3 separate regions of the Homo sapiens genome follow, and regions 2 and 3 are each linked to region 1. Evidence: promoter capture Hi-C in human tissues and cell types (Jung and others, 2019). All regions are on one chromosome and are shown on one strand. The core of a region is centred on a gene start or on the middle of the fragment in contact, and the rest is flanking DNA. Distances in the headings are between cores, read along the strand shown. Region 1 holds the start of MYO5A (myosin VA). Region 2 overlaps MYO5C (myosin VC). Region 3 overlaps ATOSA (atos homolog A).

Region 1 (3,559 bases), core at 1-2,500:
AGGCAGGGATTAAACAAACAAAAACAGCAACAACAACAACGACAACAATAAAGAATGAAGATTATTCAACCAGAAACGACAATGAGGGTGGGGAGAAGATAGAGGATGAAGACAGCGCAGGGTTGGGAGTAGAAAGACCACATTCTTGTGCTGGATGTTCAAGGATCACCGTGAGGAGAGTGAGGGCGGCTTTGCCCTTTTGATGTTGAGTTAAACTGTAATACAGATTTTCCATGTAAGTACTCCGTCATTTTCAGGTGGCAACCGGATAAACTTCAGGTGCCACCATGGAGCCGACAATCACCAGCAGCGAACAGGACGGGAAGAAGGCTGGGACAGAAGGGTAGTTGCATCTCCGCAAACGCACAGGTCTAGGAAAGAGGCACCTGGGCTGTCCCCGGGCTATCTCGTTTCAAAGTCACTTAAGTTTCTGTAGCTTAGAAGCGGCCCTTGCCCTCTGGTATCGGGAGACGACTTTGCTGCAGACATCGAGGTGCTCGGAATGACCTTGGTGATCAACCTTAACCTGAAATTCCCGGTCCTGCATTGCCCATCTCCCGGGTCACTGCTGCTGACAAGGCTCTTCTACAGTCCTGGGTTATTCTACAGTCTTTCAAGAGGGCTTCCCCTAAATCCTCTCCCTAGGAATGCTTGGAAGGACGGGAGGAGCAGCCTGGAGGCTCCCATCGTTTATTCGGACACAGTAACAGCCCGTGCCATGGCTGCGCTACCGCGGGAGCTAGGCTCCGCAGCAGAGGGCCCCGGGCTCGCTTCGGGGTGGGGGCGCCCGGGGTGTGCCGCGCCCTCGGGGCTCACGTCCCGGGCGGGTTTCCGGGCCTCGGCAGGGCGCGAGGCGGCGGCGGGGCCGGCTGGCAGGCTGATGATGATGATGCTCTGTGCTCGTAGCCGATGGGAGGCAGCGTGAGCCCGAGAGAGCCCAGAGCAGCCGCGGTGGCAGCGCTGGAGCGCAGCCTCCTCCCGCTCCCATAATGCACAGGGCGGCGGCGGTGGCGGCGGCGGCAGCGGAGGCAGCATCGCGGGCCGCCGAAGTGGCTGCGGCGGCGGCGGCGACCCCTAGGACCCCGGGCAGGTGGAGCGCTCGCGGCTGCTCGCGGCGAGCCCGGGAGTGATGGCGAGGCCCCTGCGGGCGGCCAGCGCCTGAGGCGCCCCGCCCCGCCCCGCCCCGCGCGGCCCTCCCCGCCCGGCCCTGCCCTGCCCTGCTCCCTGCCGGCGGCTGCGGGCGCTTCCTAGTCCGCTCGGGCGGCCGCCCAGGCGAGGTGCGGCCTCCGCACAGGCGGGGGGCGTAGGCGCGCGGGGCCCGCCATGGCTGCGTCGGAGCTCTACACAAAGGTAAGGCACCCCGCGGCCGGCGTCGAGGACTGGGGCTGTGCGGCCCTCGCCGCCAGCTGTCAGGCTGGGGAGGGGGCGGGAGCGCCGGGCCCAGGCGAGCCCCACCAGCGCCATCCCCTTCAGCGCCTCAGAACCCTCGGCCCTACCAGCCGGTCGCCCGCTGCGGCACCTTCCTCTTTCGGGCGAGATGGTGAAGGCGGCGGAAGGTGGCCCGCCTCGGGGGTCTCCCAGGCCCCTGCCGCGCTGCTCGAGCTGGGGGCAGAGCGGGCTTCGGAGTGGAAAGGGGGCCCATGTGGATTTAGCAGGGCGGGCGTGCCTCCCCTCCTGCTTGGCTTTGGAAAATTCCCGGCGGGTGGGAGATGCTTGCTCCAGTAGATCGGATGGGTTCTCTCGTGGGGACACGCGCTTAAAATAACGTCTTGTGTTGGTATGCAGTGCCGCTTCTACCGCCAGCTAGCCTTTCTGTGAGGTTATTTTGAATCCTGCAAACGGTGGCCGTATCACCTTTAGCTCCCCAGTTTAGCTGCGCTGGGGGTGGCGAGCCCCGGGGAAAGATGCTGCCGGATGAACGCGAGCTGATTCACCGGCTGGGAGGGTCGGTACTCATTTATCGCTGGGAGTTTGCAACCTGCGTGTAATCCCGCAGAGCCTTGTTAGGCTCCATGTCTTTACCATCCTCTGGGGCAAGCCTTTCCCTTCTGGGTTTGGTTTAAGGGAAGTGGCAGTCTTTTCTTAGACTGACATCAATATACTCAGGGTCTGGCGATCTCTGAATGACATATTATGGAGAACTGTCACTTGAGTGCTGCGCAGATTTGTGATGACCTTTGTGAATATATGTAATCATGGCATTTTATACTGTACACTCATGTGTAGGTAGATATTTTGCCAGATATTGATTACTTCTACATGCAGTTAATAGAGTTGCCTTTTCACATTAGCTTTTGCAACAGAACTTTCATTTAGGGTCCTGTAATCACTGGAATCATTGTTTCCAAATGTCACTGAAGTCCAGGGCCCAAGTTGCAGTGTGTTTTGTAGAGGAAAGAAGACTGGGCATCAAGAGACCTGGATTCAAGCCGGGACTTACTAACTGTGACCTTGGACAAGTCACTTAACATCTCTGGTTCGATTTCCTAATGAGTAAATGCAGTTAATTATACTTGCCTTGCATCCCTTACAAGCTGTTGTGAGAATCAAACTTAATAATCGTTGTGAAAGCTTTTTGTAACCTATGAATTTCTCTGCAAATATGAGATATATGATTAATTTCTTCAACCATGAAATGAGCTTGCATGAAACATTGTCTGAGACCTCTTTCTTTCTAGTTTTAGATTTAACGACTGTACAGTTGGAACTTCTCTCTCAACCTGGTAATTTCTTTAGGCATTGTAGATCTCTAACATATGAACGAATGCAATTGGAAACTGATTAAAAGTAACTTAAACACTTAATATGGTGCTTGCTATGTGCCAGGTACTGTTTTAAGCGTTTTAAAAATATGAACTCATAATCCTCATAAGGAACTTATGAGGTCGATATTAAGAAATATCAAAATCATTTTCACATGAAGAGATAATCAGTCTGTAAACATTCCTTGGTTACTTTGTGTAGCCCATCCCCTCCACTTCTACATCAAGTTTGTCCAACCCGCAGCCCATGGGCCGCATGTGGGCCCAGGACGGCTTTGAATGTGCCCCAACACAAATTCATAAACTTTCTTAAAACATGGGTTGTTGTGTTTTTTTTGCAATTTTTTTTTTAGCTCATCATTTATCATTAGTGTATTTTATGTGTGGCCAAAGAAAATTCTTCTTCCAGTGTGGCCCAGGGAAGCCAAAAGATTGGACACCCTCCGTTCTATATGGTGAGCAGTCATCTTTGAGTCACCTAATAGTAGGCTGCTTAACTAGAGACTGAGTGGATAATAAATTGTTGTTGGATTTCGAATGCTTTTTTCCCCCAGGATAATTTGGGAGAAAAAATTGAAAAGATGTTGTGATTTGTAAATGGTAAAGTTTTGGGCTTCTGTCACAGCTTTATCACAATCTATTTTAAAATTTACCTTTTAACAGCCTGAGGAACATAATGAGACCTGGTCTCTACAAAAAAATTAAAAAGTTAGGCTGGGCACGGTAGCTCACGCCTGTAATCCCAACACGTTGCCGAGGTGGGTGAATCACCTGAGGTCAGGAGTTCGAGACCATCT
Region 2 (3,559 bases), core at 544-3,043, 240 kb after region 1:
AAATTTTCTGTTTTGTTTAGTGCCCAGCGTTTCTGTAGCTTGTAAAAACCTTTTGAATCTTGATCATCTTTAGCTAATCAATCATTTCATCTGCTTGTTTGATACATGTGTTTTGTTTTTTCATCTACGATACTGGTGAAAGTGTTGAATGAAAGGGGAGGCGGTAGAGCTCTGTGGCATGCCTCTGGAGACCTTTTTTTTTTTTTTTTCCTAAAGGTTGCTCTTGCTCATTAATTAGAACTCAGGTTATGACTGTGTAGTGACAGGTTCACTACAGTCATTCCACCATCTGTTTCTTTCACTTGTGCAAGAGGAACTCACAAATATCTTCAAAGTTCTGCTGAAACTCAGATGTGCAAGGTCAAAAGAAGTGTCTTGACTAGCAGTCCAGGGCCCCTGTCTAAAATGAGGTCAAAGTTCAGCGTAACGATTTTTTTTTTAATTTGGCTAATTCTAAATAGTTTTTAGACTTCTATATACCATTAACAACTCTGGAAAATTAAATGTATCCATTGTATTATGTATGGGTAGTTCAAAGAGAAAAAAAGGGATGAAAAGACTGAAATACTTAGTCTTTAATTGGTGCAACTGAACCACTGGGAATTTGAATTTTTGTTCAAAAGTTGTTTATGGAGTGCTAGTTATGGGAAGCCTTTGCATTGGATTCCAAGCACAAAGACCAGGCTCTTAAAGTTCAAATGCCAGTGGGGGAGATGGGAGGCAGCCTAGATACCTGGGGGAGGAGCAGAGAGCGCTCAAGGGAAGCATCCAGCTCTGCTAGATGGCAAGTGGCAAGGAGAGTGCCAAGATGAGGAGTGTCTCCAGCTACTCCAGACTGTTCAGAGCTGTTTGCTCTTGGATGGGGAGAGGATGGGTGGGGCTAGGGTGGAAGGAACAGAAGTACACAGCAGAAAGCCAAAGAAGGCCTGCCATGTTCCAGAAAGTGCTAGTGGTTTTGGGTGGCCACAGGCAGAGGGTGGATTGAAAAGAGGGTGAGGCCTGAGCAGGAAATTGGCCAGAATGCTGGTTGCCCAGGCCTGGCTCTTCCTCAAAACCCATGTGGGGGTTGATTTTCAAAGCTTTTCTCTTGCCGGGCCCCACCCACAGGAATTCCAATCAAGTACGGATGAGAGAGTCTGTCTGCCCAAAGAAACCTCGTGCTCAGCCTGGCTGAGGAAGCCTCCGGGGGCTGCTGCACCAGTCAAGAGAGGATTGGTGGGGGTAGGGTTGGGGGCTGACTTATGGCCATGGCAAGGGGGCTGGTAGGCAGGGGCGGACAGGAGAGGGCTTTTAAAAGGCAGTCTTTTCTAGCACCTGGTGACTGTTGGGCTGTTGGGGTGGAGACACAGAGGGGTGCCCAGCACTGTCCCAGGCTTCTGACATGAGGGGCAAGAGAGCTAGGAAGGAGGAGCGTCGGCATCACTGGAGTTTGGAATTTATGAGTCTATGAGGACATTTAGGGGCTGACATCTTGGAGGCAATTGGAAATGTGGTGTAGAGCTCCAGTGCACGATCTGGGTGGGAGGTCTCAGATGCACAGGTGCCAGGCAGTTGCAGAAGCTGTGGAATTGGGTGGAACTCTCCAGAAACAGCCTATCATGAGAAGAGGCTGGGAAGGACCTTGGGAGACACGGACATGGGGGGCAGTGGGAGGGGCAGGGGAGCCAGGGGAGGGGCCCATGAGGAGCGAATGAAGAGGAGGAGGAAGAGAGGGGCATGGTGTGACAATCTGGCCTGGCTGACCTGGAGTGTGGACACTCCCAGTCCAGAAAGCGGTTCTAGGAGGGAAACACATGTCGTCCCATCTTGTCCCATCTTCCATATAAGTCTTCAAGTCATTTCTGTGGCTCATGCCAGAAGATCCCTCAGAAAAGCAGGCGGCGTGAGAAGATGCTGTTCTCATCTCACCTGTGTGCCTTGGGGGGGTGGCTGGCATGGTCTTGAGCTCATAAGGTTCAGTGGTCCCGAGCCTCTGCCTCAGCTTGGCGCCTTGGCATGGGGAGGGCACTCAGGGAAGTTGGGAGGTGGCCCTCTCTTTCCTGGCTCCGCTGAAGGGCTTGGCGAGCTGTTCCATCCCAGTCCACAGACTCCTGCCTCATGGGAAGGCCCCATATTCTGGAGGTCAGTTGACAGCTGGTTACATTGTTTGCATGAACTGCGGACTGCATCTGTTTGGATGAATGCTGTAAAGTTAACTCTTCCTCCAGTTTGAAGCATTGCTTTGTGGGTAGAGGAATGTGAGGGAGGAGGGGACAGGAATGAATGGGTGGAACTTACCCGGAGCTGAGTAAACTCACCGTTGTTTACTTACCAGGCTGGGTTTCAGCTGCAGGGCACTCAATGCCAGCAGAAGCACCAGGATCGCAGGGTGTGGGCGGCCTGGGGTACTGGGCTGAGGAGTCACTGGTCTTCAGAAGAGAAGCCGTCAGTGGTTACGTATGTCCTAATACTGCCTGCCATTTAATACCACTTTTAGCTGAAACCAATCCTAAATTATAGTTAGGAGAGCACATGGACTCTCAAGTAGATGGTTGCAGTTCAGAGTTCAGGATTACTTTCAGGGCCAGATTCGCTTAACTAATACGGAGTTCAAACTAGGAGTCACAGGCCCTAGCTCTGCTGGAGTCCTGGTCCTTTGAGACTCTGTCTGCTGTTTGGTGAGTTATTTCTCTCTGGGCTTCAGTTAGGGGCTCTGTTAAACAAAAGGATTGATTGGCCTAGTGACTTTCACATTACTTCTCAGAGCCCAGGCTTCCTTGGAAGGCCCCCAGGGCTCTCAGCTCCAGCTCCCATCAGAACACCTCCACTTTCACCAGCTTCGCTTAGCCAGCTGTTACAACTTAATTTTTTTTTTTTTTTGAGACGGAGTTTCACGCATGTCACCCAGGCTGCAGTGCAATGGCAAGATCTTGCCTCACAGAAACCTCCGCCTCTCGGGTTCAAGCGATTCTCCTGCCTCAGCCTCCCAAGTAGCTGGGGTTAGAGGCATGCGCCACCACGCCCAGCTACTTTTGTATTTTTAGTAGAGACGGGGTTTCTCCATGTTGGTCAGGCTATTCTCAATCTCCCAATCTCAGGTGATCCACCCACCTCGGCCTCCCAAAGTGCTGGGATTACACACGTGAGCCACCGCGCCTGGCCAGAACTTCCTTTTGAAGTAGGCTTTCTGCAGCTCTAAAAAGGAGTTTGACAAACAACTTGGAGTAGATAATCAGTTCTGAGACTCTGTAGTGGCCAATTCTTGATAAATTTGGTAATTCATGTACAATTCTTTTGGGGGGCATATATTTTGATATTTGCCTTTAAAGATTAACATTCATTGTTCTGATTATGAAAGTAATAGGTACATATTGTAGAAAATACATCCAACTCTCAGGTGTCTCTTATGAGGATCCCATTCCTAATCCATTTTAATGAAGTAAGCTTCATGACGTTAGTAATAAATATTTTCAATAGCAGACCTGGGGTAGGAGCTGTGTAGCCCGTGGCAACAAGGATGGGTGTGGGTGTGTGTGCCTGAGACAGGCGTGTCTGTGTGTTTCTTTATGAGGCCTCCATC
Region 3 (3,559 bases), core at 266-2,765, 140 kb before region 1:
CTAACAATACTGGTTTTTTTTTTTTTGGATAATGAAAAGGCAAAATTGTAGTACTTGGAAACAGTACTTCTTAGTAGGTAAACCAAAGTCAATTTGTTAATAGTTAATTCTATCTTTGCTCAAATAGGTGAAAAATCAGAAGAGTTCCTCATGTTAGACTTTTTCTTTTTCTTTTTCATGGGATGGGGTCTTACTGTGTCACTCAGACTGGAGTACAGTGATGCAATCATAATTCACTGTAGCCTCCAACTCCTGGGATCAAGAGATCATCCTGCTTAAGCTTCCAGAGTAGCTGGGACTACAGGTGCACGCCACTATGCCTGGCTAATTGTCTTTTTTTTTTTTTTTTTTTTTTGAGAAATGGGGTCTCACTATGTTGCCCAGACTGTTCTCATTCTCCTGGGCTCAAGCAGCCCTCCTGGCTCAGCCTCTCAAAGTGCTGGGATTACAGGTGTGAGGAATTGCACCTGGCCCAGACTCTTATTAAAGTAAAACAGGATGGAATAGGTAAAAAATGCCAGCAGATAATCAAAATATTAGCCTAAGAGCCCATGTGTAATACCACAATTCCTAGCAATAATTTGAGTTGAGCTTTCTCATATTTTCCTTTCCATGTAAAAGATACTCATCTCTTCCCCTTGTTTACCATATCCAGCCCCACTAGCTGCCTTTTAGGTTTTTGATTACCACTTAGGATCTGGTATGCGAAATTCCTTCTGCCTAAAAAGCCTTTCTCCCCAGTCATCACATTGGTGTCTCCTTGTTGTTCTTTTGTTATAGAACTTAACCGTCATTTTTTCAGAGAGGTTTTCTCTCACTACCCTATCCAAAGTGCTCAGTGAATGTTAATTGCTGTCATTTATTAAATGAGATGTCCCTTGTTATTCTTTGTCTGAGCAGCCTGTATTTCCTTCATAGCATTGACCACATTTTGTAATTTCTTTTGTTTATTGTCTGTCTCTACAGCTAGATTTTAAGTTTTGTGAGTCCGGAAACCTTGTCTCTTATTCACACCTGTATTCCCATCATTTAGTAGGCAGTCTTGTACATGGTAGGTGCATAGGTGTTTAATACATATTTGTTAAATGAAAGAATGACTTGTATGTCTCAGTATTTGTGGAGCAGATAGGAATAGGAGCAGCTGGGTAGCAATATTTGATTGTTTTACTGATACCAGCTGAACTTCTGCCAATTTAGGGATTGGTTTGAATTAATGACTGTTAGGCTGTTATCACAATTTTATACTTAATTTTTTGAAAATACAGTTAAGGATACTATCCATAACTTAAATAAAGGTTATATTTCTTAATTAATCATATCTTATTGAATTAAAACACTATAAAATATCTTAAAAGTAGGCAAAAGCCATTTAGTGACAATGGTTTCCAGTTTATATACGTCTAACAAATGATTCATACACAGACATTTGCTAGAAGCTCTCTGATGTCCACCCCCTGTGCTGAATTTGCTCCTATTGCTGTTTCTGAGAGAGAGGGAGAATGTCTGTATGTTCAAATTGGTAAACCTCAGGTTTATGAATATAAGAAAGTACAAGTCGGATAGACTAATGGAAAAAAAACTCAAAGGATTTAGAGTTTAGATTTGGGACCCATTCTTGGATTAAGTCCCAAACCTGTTTACTTATCTGTAAGATGTAGCTGGCTAAGGGTGTTGCTTCTGAGCTTCAACTAAGATAATATGTCAAAGAACATAGTAAGCCATGAGATGCTATATAAATGTGGACTAATTTACTCTGTGGGCAGGATTATTTGTATAGATGTGCAAAGGGCCAGGTCTTCCCAAATACAGCCAGCTGCATCTTAGTTGGTGCTATTCACACAGTATGAGGATTTTATTACTTTTAGTTTCCTCTTGCTATCCTGACAGAAATTATACCAACTAGAGATTCACTTGGATTAATAAATGTATACTTAGTTATACATTTTTCGAGGACTGTTGAAATGATGGTCATATTTTAGTTTAAATGGTTTCCTTTTAGCAGCGTACTATAATGCAAGAAAAGTTAAGACACTAAGCTTTTAGGATCAAATTTGGATTGAAATTCTAACTTCGGAACTTACCAGCCAAATTACCTTGAAAAAATTACATAGCCTTTCTGAACAACGGTTTTGTTTTTTGCTCTAATACCGTCAACCTTAAGCCTTGTGGGAAAGGTAAACTGAGAACATATGGTTTGGCACTTAACATACGCCTAGCACTGGGTAGGGATTGCTAAATGGTTTCCTCTGCTAACAAGAATACACAGCTTGGAACAGCTGCACTGAGGAAATGAGTGTTTCAGAACTCCGTTTTGAAAACTGGTTGGAACAAGCATGAAAGATCAATGGACACTTATGTCACTGTCAACCTTGTCTTCTGAAATATACAATAACATAGAAAAAAGTCAAAACCAGCATTGAACTACCCAATCTTTAATGCAAATGCAATGGAGAGGGAAAGTAGGCAAATTGGAACACAGCCCACTATTTCTGGGTGATAGTAGACCCTAATGAACAGTTTAGAGCAGCATCAGGGCAGAGAGTGAGGCAGAGGTGGGAACTAGAAAGAGGCTGATGGAAAATAGAGTGGTGAGATGTTGCCCAAAACTGCTTTTTTCTTTGTTTCAGAGTATTACCTAGGATTGATTCAGTGCTTGGAGCATGGCCCTTCTGCTTCCATGACCCAGAATTTAGATTTGTTCCATGATGCTGCAAGATGGCCATTATAGGTTAAGAAACCTTTGGTAGACTCTTCTGGGAATCTAATCATAACTCATATTGCTTGTCAGTAATATTTAAGCCTAAATAATGGTCAGACTTAAACATATCCCCTTTGGGAACATGACCAATCTGTATTTGGGAATAAACAATATTTAAAGTTTTCATATTTTGGTTTCCCACTTAACCAAATGTATATTCCTGAATGGAATTAATTTAGCGTCAGTATCTGAAATTAGGCTATTTGTAAAACTTTATCCTAACATCTAGAAAGTGCATTTACATTTTTCATCAAATTAGCAATTTTCTTTTGTGAAGAGAGATCATGGTTTGTGAGAGAGATCATTGGCCATTTCTACTTAAATTTATAACAGTAAGAGAATGTATAATTTTAGCCCTTGATATTGGCAAACTTCTTTTTGTTTATTTTGGTCTTAAAATAACTTTAAAGGTCTATATCATATTTGGTGTGTTTGACAGAAGGATGCTGATATACAAAAAATTATTCATTTTATGAAAGAACTAACCATAGGATTTCTCTAAGTTACCCTACTTTGCTTGCTCTACAATTATTATAATTAAAAATTTCAGGCCAGGCGCGGTGGCTCACGCCTGTAATCCCAGCACTTTGGAAGGCTGAGGTGGGCGGATCACAAGATCAGGAGATCGAGACCATCCTGGCTAACAATGGTGAAACCCCATCTCTACTAAAAAAATACAAAAAAATTAGCTGGGTGTGGTGGCAGGCGCCTGTAATCTCAGCTACTCTAGGACTGAGGCAGGACAGTGAGGCAGGAGAATGGCGTGAACCGGGGAGGCGGAGCTTGCAGTGAGCCGAGATT

The links. Contacts are between HindIII fragments. The study calls those that stand out against the background at their distance.
Region 2: a fragment that was not itself captured here is called in contact with the fragment with the promoter of MYO5A in region 1 in 1 of the 25 tissues and cell types used here (dorsolateral prefrontal cortex).
Region 3: a fragment that was not itself captured here is called in contact with the fragment with the promoter of MYO5A in region 1 in 1 of the 25 tissues and cell types used here (lymphoblastoid cells).

What each region holds. Positions count from the first base shown.
Region 1 is chr15:52,526,571-52,530,129 of GRCh38, reverse strand. MYO5A (myosin VA) reads left to right here and starts at 1,250. Exons shown (of 42, transcript NM_001382347.1): 1 at 1,250-1,350. The coding sequence starts at 1,324. RefSeq lists a silencer at 721-1,600. The HindIII fragment of the contact is 17,074 bases long and covers 1-3,559 here.
Region 2 is chr15:52,287,277-52,290,835 of GRCh38, reverse strand. All of the region lies in intron 1 of MYO5C (myosin VC), which reads left to right. Among named protein-coding and RNA genes, the nearest start is that of MYO5C, 6.7 kb to the left of the region's middle. The HindIII fragment of the contact is 3,492 bases long and covers 48-3,539 here.
Region 3 is chr15:52,668,969-52,672,527 of GRCh38, reverse strand. All of the region lies in intron 2 of ATOSA (atos homolog A), which reads left to right. Among named protein-coding and RNA genes, the nearest start is that of ATOSA, 8.6 kb to the left of the region's middle. RefSeq lists an enhancer at 435-936. The HindIII fragment of the contact is 4,747 bases long and covers 1-3,559 here.